5 separate regions of the Homo sapiens genome follow, and all the other regions are linked to region 1. Evidence: promoter capture Hi-C in 16 types of primary human blood cells and fetal thymus (Javierre and others, 2016). All regions are on one chromosome and are shown on one strand. Each heading gives the region's core, a stretch centred on a gene start or on the middle of the fragment in contact. The rest is flanking DNA. Distances are from core to core; before and after follow the strand shown. Region 1 holds the start of RNF111 (ring finger protein 111). Region 2 has its middle 85 kb from the start of AQP9. Region 3 has its middle 5.2 kb from the start of BNIP2. Region 4 has its middle 21 kb from the start of GCNT3. Region 5 has its middle 72 kb from the start of GCNT3.

Region 1 (2,865 bases), core at 151-2,650:
CACACACAACAAAAATGGGAAAGGAAATGGAACCTTAGCTTATGTTTTTCCCAGTTTGTTCTTTTTAGTTCAAGAGGCCCCTAAAACAAGAAAATTATAGATAAAATACCAAATGAAATAAAGTTTAGATTAAGTCACATTCAAAAGCTACAGGAAATCCTACAAAACGTAGTCTATGTCAGCTGGCATCTTACCATTCAAGAGAATTCTAAATTAATGCCGCACATAAATCAAGAAACAGGAAAGCTTACAACAACACAATGGAGTCACCCCACAACACACACACGAACAAATTAAATGAATACCTCATACTTTCTGGTATTTTTTGAATAATCAAAACTTAGGTTGAGAAATACCCATCTGTAAAGATCTATCTACTATAACCTATTTAAGAACTGTTGTAACAAATCTATTTCTGCTGCACTGAACAGATATTCCCACTATAGCACTGACACTGACTCTGATAAATTATCGAAGGACAATAGTAAAAACATCAGTTTCTTTTTAAATGACCAACAAGCCAACTCCATACAAAATCTGACGCGTCTGTATTTCAGCTGTTCCGCGGACTACGTTTCCTTGATCACAGCAGCAGCAGGCGACTCCCTAGCCGTCAGGGCTGACTTAGCGCCCTCCAACTCCCCGGGTCCGGGTTACCTTCATCACTCCATTGTCAAATCGCACTCCCACGCCTCGGTCCTCAGCCCCCATCCTGAGACTCTAGGGAGAGTCGGAAGTGGGAGAGAAATCCCCTCACCCACACTCCCTCACTGTAGGCTGTGGGTGTGTCGGTAGACGAATGCCTTGCCCAAACACAAATCGTCTGCGGAGACCCAGACCCTAAGTCACCACCGAGCCAGAGATAACCGGCCGGTCACCGACCCCAGCCTTCCGCGGCCGCAGCCCTTCCTCTTTCTCCCCTCCAGGCCGGCCCCTCCCCCGTTGCGCGCACGCGCGGCCTCCAATGGATCCCCTCCCCCCCCGTTCCCCTCACCTTAATCATTAGCCACCCTCTTCTCTTCCAGGGTCCGGGAATCACTGACCCAGGAAGGAAGACAGAAATGTAAGGCGTAAAGAGTAATGCGTCGAGAGCCAGCGATCTGCGCCTCAGACGTCGGCCTAATAGGCCCCTAGAGTCAAGAACAGTGTCTGTCACCGCCACCAAAACTGTACGTGCGGCAGCGCCTGGACTCGGCCCAGCTAAGCCGGCGTGGGTTCAGAATGCCTAATTTGGTCCCACAAGAACTCCTTCTCTGAAGCTGCGGGCGTTTCTACGCTGCGCAAACCGAACACCTCCTCGCCGTCGCCGCCACTGCCGCTGCTCCCCTACAGCCGCCGCCGCCGCTTCGCCGCCGCCGCCGCCTAACCAATTCCTCCCCTACCGAGGAGAGCACGACACTAGGGCTCTTTACGACAGTTCGGAAAGTGAGAGCGCAGTAGCCTTCACGCCTCCATTAACATCTGTTTGTTTCTGCGCTTGCTCGATTCCCGTTTCTCACCGTCCCGCCCCCTCGGTCCCGGCCCTCCCCCTTTGTACTGGTTTTATCAGTCTGTTGGCGAACTGAAAGGTGTCACAAAGCTCATTATTTAATTTTCTTTGGTGATTATGCGTTCAACATTTAAGCCAAATCTTGACTACATCTTGGTTCATTTTTTCGTAACTAAAAATTAACCAACTACAGAATTGATACATTTACAGATATACGTAAACAAAAACATCATGGGTTAGTGTCTTTCACAACAAATGATACCCATATCATATGCGCTAATGACATAAAGATCACGGCACCTCACTGTTAAAGTGAATTTGCTTCCGGAATCAGATCAAAAGTGGTCACATATCTCCTGCGAACTCGGGCTGTACAATCGCATAAGCCTCCTTGTTTATTTTATAAAAGTCAGTAGATAACAAATGCGTCATTATATGCATTAGGAGGATAGAGAGAGGATGAGCTTCAGAGTCCATCAGGCAGACTTCCTTTCAAAGTCCAGTGGTGCCACTTAAGAGTTCTCTGATTGATGAGATCCTTATAAATCTTAGTTTCCTCCTCTATAAATTGGGATAACGTATTTACCTCAAAAGGTTCTTGTTAGATTAAATGAGACAATTTATATAATGCTCTGAACATTACTTGCCAATTAAGTGTTCACTAAACATTAATTCCCTCCCTTTGCCATCAACTCATCTTTTTCAATACTTTTTTTGTTCACTCATATTTTCCGTATCATTCAGTAAGCAAATGATTTTGGCCGGGCACGGTGGCTCACGCCTGTAATCCCAGCACTTTGGGAGGCCTAGGCGGGTGGACTACCTGAGATCAGGAGTTCAAGACCAGCCTGGCCAACATGGTGAAACTCCTTCTCCACTAAAAATACAAAAACTAGCTGGGCGTGGTGGCGGACGCCTGTAATCCCAGCTACTCGGCAGGCTGAGGCAGGAGAATCGCTTGAGCCAGGGTGGCCGAGGTTGCAGTGAGCCATGATCAAGCCATTGCACCCCAGCCCGGGTGACAGGGAGACTCCGTCTCCAAGAAAAAAAAAAAAAAGGCTGGGCGCGGTGGCTCACGCCTGTAATCCCAGCACTTTTGGAGGCCAAGGCGGGCGGATCATGAGGTCAGGAGATGGAGACCATCCTGGCTAACACGGTGAAACGCTGTCTCTACTAAAAATACAAAAAATTAGCCGGGCGTAGTGGCGGGCGCCTGTAACCCCAGCTACTCGGGAGGCTGACACAGGAGAATTGCTAGGACCCGGGAGGCAGAGGTTGTAGTGAGTGCGAGATTGTGCCACTGCACTCCAGCCTGGGCGACAGAGTGAGATTCCGTCTCAAAACAAACAAACAAACAAACAAACAAAACACACACA
Region 2 (2,865 bases), core at 188-2,687, 760 kb after region 1:
AACTCCTTGGCAGAAGCAAGTATAAACTAAACTTGAAATTAATTGCTCTGGTTGTGAAAGAAATGGCTATTTTAAAATTGCGGTAATTTCTCCACATTGTTACATTTATACATTTTTTTTAAACATTAAGTGGTGAAGCCAGGAGACTCAGGCACACAGAACGAGACCCATTTCTATTTTCTTTGGCAGGGGAGTTGCACTAGGTGAGTGGACAGCCCAGCAGCAAGGGACATGTCTGGGGGTGGGTCAGGGACAGGCCTCTAGCTGGGCAGTGTGTGAGCACTGGGGGATGACAGCTGTGTCCTGACTGGCTGCTGCTGTGCCAAGACCTTGGCTGTGTTTCCTGCTTGGGTTCCATCCCACAATCATGCACTGGCTTTTCTGCTTCCTGGCCAATTCTGTGAGCCCCCAGGGGCCTTGACCACAGATGCTTTTTCTGCTTAAGTTAGTTGTATTGAGTTTCCATTGTTTGCAACCAAGAACACTGATGCATTTATTTAGCAAATTAATTAGCTCAGTGATTCACTTACTCAACATTGCCTGAGCACGACACTGCGTGAAGTAGGTCTTGTTGTTCTTCATTTTGTGGATGCAGGAGTGGAAGCTTAGAGAATTAGAATTTTGAAAATTCATATTACAATCTAGCTTTTGGTGTTAAAGTGGTGTTTGCTGTTTCTTTATCATTTTCCTGTAGTCAACAGAGTTAACATTTTGTCTCAAACCCTGGAGGATTTCAAAGCCTCATCACTGGGAAAATGCCCATGTTACAGACCCCAGCAGTCACCTACCCAGTTGGAGTTATTTATGCCTTTTGTCCAGAAGAACCTGGGCAGGGTTCCCAAAAGACCCTTCCTCTGTATAAACTGCATAGGCAGACCTGAGTATGAGGGGGCTTTTGGTGAGGCCTTTTTGGAACAGCACCCCTATAAGACTAAGTGTGTATGTGTATTGAGGGGAGGGGGGCAATGTTAGACGGTTGGCTCGCATAAATTCCATCTATTGCATCATTTTGAGCACGTGATTCTACCTAGAACCTGAAAGGAGGAATGATTTTACAAATCATTCAGTTCCACTGAAGCAAAAATAGTTTTCCTCTGGAACTTAATGCTAGGATAAATCTTTCTCCTCTTTCTAGAAAAAGAAAGAGAAAGGAGGATCAATCCTTTGCAAAAGACAAAACCTCCACTTCCCAAAGTCTTGGGGTAGGCCGCTGGAGATTCAGTGATTGTTTGATGATGCTGACTAATGTAGACAGCCAACTTGAGGCCATTCTTCCAGACCAAATGGCGTTGTTCTGTGTGACATGGATACTAAAAACCCTACCAGCTTTTTGAAGCCTTCTTGATAAGTATTTAGCAAATGAAGTCTACCTCAAACCCATGTTCTACATTGGACTTACAGAGATGTGTAGGGAGGGAGGTTAGATAAGGGCCACAAGTAAGTTTTCCTCTGGAGGAGAGACATGGCCTTTTTTGGAATCACAGGAGTTGCTGATGGACAAAGGGCAAGGGTTTTCCAGGGAGAGGCTACATTTTTAACAGTTCACAAATGGACTGTGCAACATTGTTCACCTTCTTAATCTGTCACTCTCTCTTTGCCTTTTTATGTGTACAGCTTTTGACTTGTTTTTGTGATTGGTGTTATTTTCTAATTCTACATTCCTTTTCCACTACAATTATTGCCACTTATCATCAGCTCCATCTTGTGGGGAAGTAATTTAGCCTGCTTCTCTGACAGTGATGTCATTTTTCAGCTCACACTGTGGGAAGGTGGAGCTGGCTCAGAGACTATGCTATGTAGGACTGAAACACCATCAGATTCCTCTCTTGATCATTATGTGTGGGCTTTATTTTTTCCTTGACAGATGAACTTTCTCTACTCAACAGGGATGTGGCCACCAGCAGCTTCCAGGCTCTTAACCTCGGAGCTTTGCTGCCAGACACGAAAAGATCTTTTCCCCTTAGTTCTAATCTTTAGTCACTGGAAGAGATACTGATTGGCTTGAATTGGGTTATGTGTTCAACCCTGGGCCAATCACTGATGCTAAAATATTTGCATGTAAAAAAGAGAAATACTCTGTTTTGGAACCCTTGTTTTAGTATTGAGATGCTGGGAAAAGAAATTGTTTCCCCAAAGAGGCCACTATTCCCAGGAGAAAGGAAAAGAGGCACTTGGCTAACAATAAATATTTACTGAGCACCTACTATGTGCTAGACAGTACATTTGGAAGCAGGAGACAGAGTAAGAACTGTTTTAAGAATATAAGCTTTTGGGGAAATTTACAGAAATCTTGCAGAAAGCTTTGAATTTCCACAGAGCGTGGACTAGGACTTCATATCAATTTTATCCAGATTCAAACGCTGAAGAGATTTTAGTGGATATTCTAGTTTGTTTTATTTAAAACACAATGTGTTGTGTTTTAAATACATTGTATTTTAAATAAAACTAGAATACTATCTTTGATGCCAAGTAACTTTAAAGATAGAGACGTTTTGCCCCAGGAGGAAATTTGAATAGTGGCCTCAGTGTTCTTAACACTTAAGGAAATTGATAAGGATCTGAAAGGCAATATGATACAGTGCAACTAGTAGATTTATTGTCAGAAGATTTGGTGTCAGTTTTTAATTCTACTAATAGTAAAATGGATGACTCTGGGGGGGTCTCAGGTTGGGCCCCAGGTGGCAGACCCTGAATTGGAGATCAAGGTTCAGGAGGATTAATAGGATTAATACCCTGAAGGAAGAAAGCAGGACTGGACAGAGGAGAAGTTGGGCTACGATGCTGTCACCACGGGGCTCAGCTAACCACATGGGGTCACTCTAGAGCTGTGGTGGCCCTACACAGCTGTCCTGAGTTGGGACAAGG
Region 3 (2,865 bases), core at 266-2,765, 710 kb before region 1:
GAATAATTACAAACAAAAAAAGGAAATCTGGGGAGTGGGGGACCGGAGGAGTAATTACTAATTCCCAGGCTACACATGATCCTTCTCTGTGGAAACCATGTGCCTAATAATAGAGAGAGCTTCCCAGAGAAAAGCCGCTCCACCACTCACCCTGAACACTGTTATCATTCTTTTTTTTTTTTCTTTTTCTTTTTTGACACAGAGTCTCACTCTGTCACCCAGGCTGGAGTACAGTGGCATGATCTCAGCTCACTGCAACCTCCGCCTCCCAGGTTCAAGCAATTCTCCTGCCTCAGCCTCCCAAGTAGTTGGGATTACAGGCACGCACCACCACGCCCAGCTAATTTTTGTATTTTTAGAGACAGGGTCTCACCATTTTGGCCAGGATGATCTCAATTTCTTGACCTCATGATCCGCCCACCTCGGCCTCCCAAAGTGCTGAGATTACAGGTGCGAGCCACCACACCTGGCCTATTATCATTCTTTCAAGAAGTTGTCAGAGGGCCTGTTCTCATCAGTCTGATACATCACTCCCTGTTAGCATAGGTCAGATGGTGTCTTCTGCCTCCCCGTCTAGCCATCATGTCCATGCCTTCAGCCTTTCATCACTATCCACCACTCTCGGCACAGGCTCAACACCTCTTCCAAGTCTATGTTGGCTGAGCACTTTTATTTTAATGTACAAAGTGTGACAAAGTATCATAAATGCTTTTAACACATACTGAAGCATATATTCAAATGAGTGCTGCCTTTCTCAAAGTTCGTTGTCTTAGGAGGACTCATCCTAACGCTGCTGCCACTGTGCAGGATACCTTTCAATCTCTTCTTTTGGAATTCGATTATAAATTAATAGATGATTCCTTTTCCACATTGCTCATTATATTGGCTACAAATAAATCCTTACCATTAAAAAAAATCCCTTTTTAATCTGGCCTTTGACTACTTCCTTTTTGTTAAGGGCTATTTACAGCCACCCCTTCTCCCATTGCTTGTGCTCTGGTCATGCTGAACACTGCAGTTCCTAGAAGCCTCTGTGAATCTGCATATTCCAATTCCCTCTGCCAGAAAGATCATCCTCTTGTTACTAAGCTCAAGATCTCCTCATTCAGAAAACCTCTACTGCCTTTATCTCCCACTCTCTAATCTGTTTAGCTCCCTTCAATTTAGCTGCACCTTAAAAGTACCAAGGTCACCTCAATCCACCAAATTGTTTATTGTCTTCATTGCTCCTCTCCCTAACCAGTTGATAAGCTCTTTGAATGCAGATACTATGTCTTTTTTTTTCCTGCATCCTCGGGGCCCAACAGCATTGATTTATGATATTGTTCAATAAAGATTTACTGGCCAGGTGTGGTGGCTCCCACCTGTAATCCCAGCAATTTGAGAGGCTGAAGCAGGCAGATCACTTAAGGTCAGGAGTTGGAGACCAGCCTGGTCAACATGGCGAAACCCTGTCTCTACTAAAAAATGAAAGTAAAAAGATTAGCCGGGTGTGGTGGCACACGCCTATAGTCCTGCTACTCTGATGGCTGAGGCACAAACCCAGAAGGCGAAGGTTGCAGTGAGCCAAGATCGTGCCACTGCACTCCAGCCTAGATGGCAGAGTGAAACCCTGTCTCAGAACATATATATATATATATCTCAAGCGGGCATGGCAGAGCACTTCGAGAGGCTGAGGCAGGAGGATTGCTTGAGGCCAGGAGTTCGAGACCAGCCTAGGTAAAATAGCAAGACCCCATTTCTAAATAAATATTTAAATAAGTAAATAAAGATGTATCAAATGAATGGATACTTGAAAGAAGTGGGTAATCTAAAATGACAACTTTGAAAGTAAACATTCATTTGACTGAGTCCTAGGTGAGTTCAAGAATTACTGGATTATTCAATAAATGCTTTTACACAAACTCTTTAGTCAGTTTAGTAAAGTCAGACTCCCTATTCATATCATAAGCACATACACAAAATGCCAATTGGATTTAATATTCATATGTAAAAAAAAAAAGAAAAGAAAAAAGAAAAAGAAACTATAAGACCACCAGAAGAAAACAACAGTGATGGGCCGGGCGCAGTGGCTCACTGTAATCCCAGCACTTTGGGAGGCTGAGGCGGGCGGATCACGAGGTCAGGAGTTCAAGATCAACCTGGCCAAAATGGTGAAACCCTGTCTCCACTAAAAATATAAAAATTAGCTGGGCGTGGTGGCAGGCACCTATAATCCCAGCTACTTGGGAGGCTGAGGCAGATAATTGCTTGAACCCAGGAGATGGAGGTTGCAGTGAGCCGAGATCACGCCACTGCACTCCAGCCTGGGCGACAGAGCGAGACTCCGTCTCAAAAAAAAAAGAAAAAGAAAACAACAGTGACTATACAATTTTAGTGTGAGGAATGCCTATTTAAACATAACACCAAAAACTACACAAGAAAAGGCTGACCATGGCTCTGAGCTAATGTATCACTCTCCAAGTGTTACCTGCTATGTAGGGCATAAGGGCTGGAAGCCATGCTTTTTTTTCCACGGAATTTTTCCCCAATTTTTAAGAGCTTAAATATCTGCCTATTCAAGGAAACAATAAGTAATTGTAAAAATACCCTAAATCTTGTCCAAAAAGTCTGGAAACACAGGGAATACAGTGGGTTTTTTTGTTTGTTTGTTTTTTGAGACAGAGTCTCGCTCTGTCATCCAGGCTGGAGTTCAGTTGCGCGACCTCGGCTCACTGAAACGTCCACCTCCCAGGTTCAACCGATTTCCCTGCTTCAGCCTTCCAAGTAGCTGGGATTACAGATGTGTGCCACCACACCCAGCTAAATTTTGTATTTTTAGTAGAGGTGGGGTTTCACCATGTTGGCCAGCCTGGTCTCCAACTC
Region 4 (2,865 bases), core at 267-2,766, 650 kb before region 1:
AATGCAATGGTGTGATCTCAACTCACTGCAACCTCTGCCTCCCGAGTTCAAGCAATTCGCCTGCCTCAGCCTCCCAAGTAGCTGGGATTACAGGCATGTGCCACCACGCCTGGCTAATTTTGTTGTTTTTAGTAGAGACAAGGTTTCACCATGTTGGTCAGGCTGGTCTTGAACTCCTGACCTTAGATGATCCGCCCGCCTCGGCCTCCCAAAGTGCTGGAATTACAGGCATGAGCCACCATCCCCGGCCAATTCTAAGATTTTTTTAAATCAATGCCTGCAATGTGCAGCACTTAGCCTAAAATATTATATTTGAGGCTTGTTTTCTTTGTCCATGTTGTCTTACTATCATGGCATGTTGGTCCTGTACAAGCCATGATAGTAACACAACATGGATAGTAAGGTCTCATAACAGTTTCAGCTGCTCTGGATGATTATTTGCCATCTCCTTAGGGAGCCTCCAGAATTAATTTGTAGCTTTTGTCAGTCCATCCTAAAATCTTCTCTAATTTGATGAATATTCATCTATTTTTTGCATGCTGTAGTAAGAATGTAATCTTATTTTTCTAGTACATAGGGAGGCACAATCTGCAAGGAGTTTAGGGCAAAGCATTTTACCTAATAAGAGGTACAGGAACTTGGCAACACACAGCAAAGTATTTAGTGGGAATTAGCTCAAAAGAGCATTGTGTAGAAATATGCTCAACGGAACTTTCTCTTGAATATCCCAACTCTTATTATCTGATTCTGTGAACTTCCTGAAATTCTATTCAAGAGAAATAGGCTTCAAAACTGGTTCTTTTGCCTGTAGGCAGAGATGTGAAGGTATACTTTCCACTTCTGGAGACACATGGGCAGCACTGATTCTTTGGCCAAGTTAAGGGATGGACACAGAAGCTTTGTGCATTTCTCTTTCCTGCTTCTACTCCCTCTATTCCCTGATAGGAATACTCTATCTGCAGACTTCCACATTTAGTCATGCCAGAGTAAGAAGGATGGGACTTAACTTCCTTCTATAAACAACTAGAAAAGTAAATTAAGTATATGAAACAAACGTTTTCCACATATTGGACCACAGGCAGCTGTGACAGGACTGTAATCCCTAAGAAAGGAAAAAAATAGGATGAACCCTGTAATCATCCCAGCTCTCTTCATGGAGGCAATATCCAAGCTGCAGGCACAGGGAAAGGAAATAGAAACAGAACCTGGCAGTCTTGCGGAGTTGAGGAAAGGTGAGATAGTTGAAGCTGCAAGCAGATTTCCAGAAAGGAGAACACTATGGAGGGAAAAAAAAACCTCCAGGAATCTATACCGTGGTCCCCTCGAGTCCTTACTGAGTGCCTGGCTGCATAGAAGCAGTGACACTCCGCTAGGCCAAGCTAAGAGTGGGGAGTTGGAAACAGCAATTCCCAAAGCTCACACTGGGGGATGCCAGAGGGAAGAGTCCTCTGTAATCACCCAAGACATTAGAAACCCCAAGGTCATGCCTTGGTAGCAGGCATCAAATATCCCTTGAATGAAGGCTGCTTGACTTAAACTCACCCTAGCAAAGCGGAAAAGCAGACTCAAGGGAGATCACACTGTTCCACAAATATTGCCAAAATGAAGCCCAACACAAGTAAACGAAGTCCAGATCCTCAATAACTTAAGAGTTACAATGTACTCCATCTAACAGAAAAATGACTAGACATGCTAAGCAGCAGGAAAATGTGACCATAATGAGGACAAAACATAATGAACAGGAACAGACACAGAAATGACAGGGGTGATACAGCTAGCAGACAAGGATGTTAAAACTGCCATTTTTGTATTAATACAAATACTTAATGAGAAAAATCAAAGATTTTTTTAAAAAGCAGAACTTCTAGAGATGAAAGATACAATATATGAAAACAATTAACTGAATAGCAGACTAGATACTAAAGAAGATCAGTGAAATTGAAAAACAAATTTTATCTAAAATACAGCACAAAGAGAATATAACTAGGGAAAAAAGGAATCAAACCTCAGAGATTTTTGGAATAATATCGAGTGGCTATATATGGAAGGGAGAACAGAAAGATGAAATTAAGGAGACAGTGGCCAAATTTTTCCAAATTTGACGAAAACTATAAACCAACAACGAAGAAGCTTAACTCCAAGCAGGATAACCACAGTACATCAAAATCTAATTGCTGAAAAATAGTGATAAAGAGAAAATTTAAAAGCAGAGGTAAGAGACACTTTATACCCACAAAAACAAAGATAATGATTTCCAAAGACTACTTGTTAACAGCTATGCAGCTAGAAGACAATGAAATAAAATCTTAAAAATACTGAAGACCACCTCACACCCATAAGGATGGCTACTAGCAGAGAAAAAAAAATTAATAAGTGTTGGTGAGAATATAGACATAGTGGAATTCTTTTACAGTATTGGTGAGAATATAAAACTGGCACAACTAAGGAAAACAGTATGATGGTTCCTCAAAAAATTAAAAATAGAATTACCAACCAGGCATGTCGGGTCACACTTGTAATCCCAGCACTTTGGGAGGCTGAGGCGGGAGGGATTGCTTGAGGCCACTAGTTAGAGACCAGCCTGGGCAACATAGAGACTCCCATCTCCACCAAAAAAAAAAAAAAAATTAGCCAGGTGTGGTGGCATGCACCTGTAGTCCCATCTACTTGGGTGGCCAAGGCAGGAGAATTGCTTGAGCTCAGGAGTTCGAGGCTATAGTGAGCTATACCTGCGCCACTGCACTCTAGCCTGGGCAATGGAGCAAGACTCCATCTCAAAAAATATATATATATGTATATATATGTGTGTGTATATATGTGTATATATATGTATATATGTGTGTGTGTGTGTGTGTGTGTGTGTGT
Region 5 (2,865 bases), core at 230-2,729, 550 kb before region 1:
CTGTGGATCTTGTTGAACTGCAGAATTTGATGCAGGAGGTCTGGGCTAGGGCTTCTAACAATCTCCAGGAGAGTCCAGGCAGCAGGACTGGGAGGTCTGGAGTTCGAGACCAGCCTGGCCAACACGGCAAAACCCCATCTCTACTAAAAATACAAAACTTAGCTGGGCATGGTGGCGGGCACCTGTAATCCCCGCTACTTGGGAGGCTGAGGCAGGAGAATCACTTGAGCCCAGGAGGTGGAGGTTGCAGTGTGCCGAGATCATGCTATTGCACTCCAGCCTGGATGACAAAAGTGAAACTCTGTTTCAAAAAAAAGAAAGGGAGGGAAGGAAGGAAGGAGGAAGGGAGGGAGGGAAGGGAAGGAGGGAGGGAGGGAGGGAGGAAGGGAAGGAAGGAAGGAAAGAAGGAAGGAAGGAGGGAAAGATTTCAAGTGCTATCCTGAGAATGATTCCATCTCAACAGTTTCCTTAGGCCATTTAATTCAGTTCAAATTTCCAAGCCAAAGTATTTGCCCCTTAGTGGGAGGTAAGGAGTCCTTTCAATAACATTTCCACCAGAACCACACAGAACCGGGGCTTGTTCTTCAAGAGAAGCCAGAGGCTGTCACCCTAGTAAAAGAAGGCACAGGCTGGCCAGGCAGCAGGAGACATCCACTTCAACCCAGTTATATTTTGAACCCAAAGGCACAACCACGTCTTTATCTTTATTACATTTTTAAATGGATGTTGAGTGTTTATTTTCCTCCAGGTTATTGGTAGAGAGTGTTTTAATATTTTTATCACTCCAAAAAGAAACCTTGTCCGCATTAGCAGTCACTTATCATTCCACCTTCACCCCAGTTTCTGGAAACCACCAAGCCACTTTCTGTGTTTATAGATTGGCCTGTTCTGAACATTTTATAATGCATGAAATTTTACCCTATGTGGTCTTTTGTGACTGGCTTCCTTCACTTCAGATATATTTCCAGGCTGGTCGTGGTGTCTCACACCTATAATCACAGTACTTTGTGAGACCGAGGTGGGTAGATCGTTTGAGCCCAGGAGTTTGAGAACAGCCTGGGCAACATGGCGAAACCCCATCTCTACTAAAAATACAAAAATCAGTCAGGCATGGTGGTGAGCACCTGCATTCCCAGCTGTTTTGGGGGCTGAGGCACGAGGATCACCTGAACCTTGGGAGATCCAGGCTGCAGTGAGCCGTGATCAGGCCGCTGCACTCCAGCCTGGGCAACAGAGTGAGATACTGTCTCAAAACATTTAATTTTAAAAAAAAAGAATCTTTCCAAGGGTCATCCATGATGTAGCATGGATCACAATTCCATTCCTTTTTACGGCTGAATAATATTACATTGTATTATGTGCCACATTTTATTTATCCATTCATCAGTTGATGAATATTTGTGTTGTTCCCACCTTTTGTCTACTATGAAAATGCTTCTATGAATATTCTTTTTTTTTTTTTAGATTTCCTCAAATTCCTTTTTGTCATGTTATGAATATTCTTGTACAGGTCTTTGTGTGGACCTAGGTTTTCAGTTCTTTGGTGTACACACTTAGCAGTAAAACTGCTGGGTCATATGGGAACTCTATACTCAACATTTTGAAGAACTGCCTGTTTACCACACTCTTTTCCAGGGTGTGGCATGGTGACTCACATCTGTAATCCTAGCACTTTGGGAGGCCAAGGCAGAAGGATCACTTGAGGAGTTCAAGGTCAGCCTGAGCAACATAATAAGACCCTGCCTCTACCAAGAAAAAAAAAATATATATATATATATATACACGTATATATATACGCGTATATATATACACGTATATATATACACATATACACACGTATATATATACACGTATATATACACACGTATATATATACACGTATATATACACACATATATATACACGTATATATACACACATATATACACGTATATATACACACGTATATATACACGTATATATACACACGTATATATACACGTATATATACACACGTATATATACACGTATATATACACACGTATATATACACGTATATATACACACGTATATATACACGTATATATACACACGTATATATACACGTATATATACACACGTATATATACACGTATATATACACACGTATATATACACGTATATATACACACGTATATATACACGTATATATACACACGTATATATACACGTATATATACACACGTATATATACACGTATATATACACACGTATATATACACGTATATATACACACGTATATATACACGTATATATACACACGTATATATACACGTATATATACACACGTATATATACACGTATATATACACATATATATACACGTATATACGTATATATACACATATACGTATGTATATACACACATATACACGTATATATATATGTACATATATACACACATATATACGTACATATACATACACACACACATATATATACACACACACATATATATGTGTATATATACACATACATATATATAAAAAATATATAGCTGGGTGTGGTGGCCTGCACTGATACTCTTAAATACTCAGGAGGCCGAGTGGGTAGGATCACTTGAGCCAGGAGGTTGAGGCTACAGTGAGCTATAATTGTATCACTGCACTCTAGCCTGAGCAACAGAGTGAAAACTTATCTCAAAAATAAATAAGTAAATGAAACCAAAGGGGCTGCACCAGTTTGCATTTTCACTGGCAATATATGAGGTTTCCAAATTTCTTCACATCTTCATCAAAACTTGTTACTAGCCAGGCACAGAGCCTGATGTCTGTCATTCCGGCATTTTGGGAGGCTGAGGTGGAAGGATTGCTGGAGACCAAGAGTTTCAGACCAGCCTGGGCAACA

What was found. Contacts are between HindIII fragments. The CHiCAGO score rates a contact against its expected background, and 5 or more counts as called.
Region 2: a fragment that was not itself captured here is called in contact with the fragment with the promoter of RNF111 in region 1 in 3 of 17 cell types (fetal thymus, megakaryocytes and endothelial precursors); the score reaches 8.2 in fetal thymus.
Region 3: a contact is called between a fragment that was not itself captured here and the fragment with the promoter of RNF111 in region 1, in 1 of 17 cell types (neutrophils). The highest score is 9.6, in neutrophils.
Region 4: a contact is called between a fragment that was not itself captured here and the fragment with the promoter of RNF111 in region 1, in 1 of 17 cell types (M2 macrophages). The highest score is 5.2, in M2 macrophages.
Region 5: a fragment that was not itself captured here is called in contact with the fragment with the promoter of RNF111 in region 1 in 8 of 17 cell types (neutrophils, total CD8 T cells, total B cells and 5 more); the score reaches 10.7 in neutrophils.

What each region holds. Positions count from the first base shown.
Region 1 is chr15:58,986,198-58,989,062 of GRCh38, reverse strand. It overlaps RNF111 (ring finger protein 111), which reads right to left and starts at 1,400. Exons shown (of 14, transcript NM_017610.8): 1 at 995-1,400. RefSeq lists a silencer at 517-681. The HindIII fragment of the contact is 2,845 bases long and covers 249-2,865 here.
Region 2 is chr15:58,221,769-58,224,633 of GRCh38, reverse strand. No RefSeq gene overlaps it. Among named protein-coding and RNA genes, the nearest start is that of AQP9, 85 kb to the right of the region's middle. RefSeq lists a silencer at 2,728-2,777. The HindIII fragment of the contact is 1,662 bases long and covers 607-2,268 here.
Region 3 is chr15:59,693,130-59,695,994 of GRCh38, reverse strand. No RefSeq gene overlaps it. Among named protein-coding and RNA genes, the nearest start is that of BNIP2, 5.2 kb to the right of the region's middle. The HindIII fragment of the contact is 5,936 bases long and covers 1-2,865 here.
Region 4 is chr15:59,631,467-59,634,331 of GRCh38, reverse strand. No RefSeq gene overlaps it. Among named protein-coding and RNA genes, the nearest start is that of GCNT3, 21 kb to the right of the region's middle. The HindIII fragment of the contact is 1,233 bases long and covers 900-2,132 here.
Region 5 is chr15:59,538,746-59,541,610 of GRCh38, reverse strand. No RefSeq gene overlaps it. Among named protein-coding and RNA genes, the nearest start is that of GCNT3, 72 kb to the left of the region's middle. The HindIII fragment of the contact is 5,264 bases long and covers 1-2,865 here.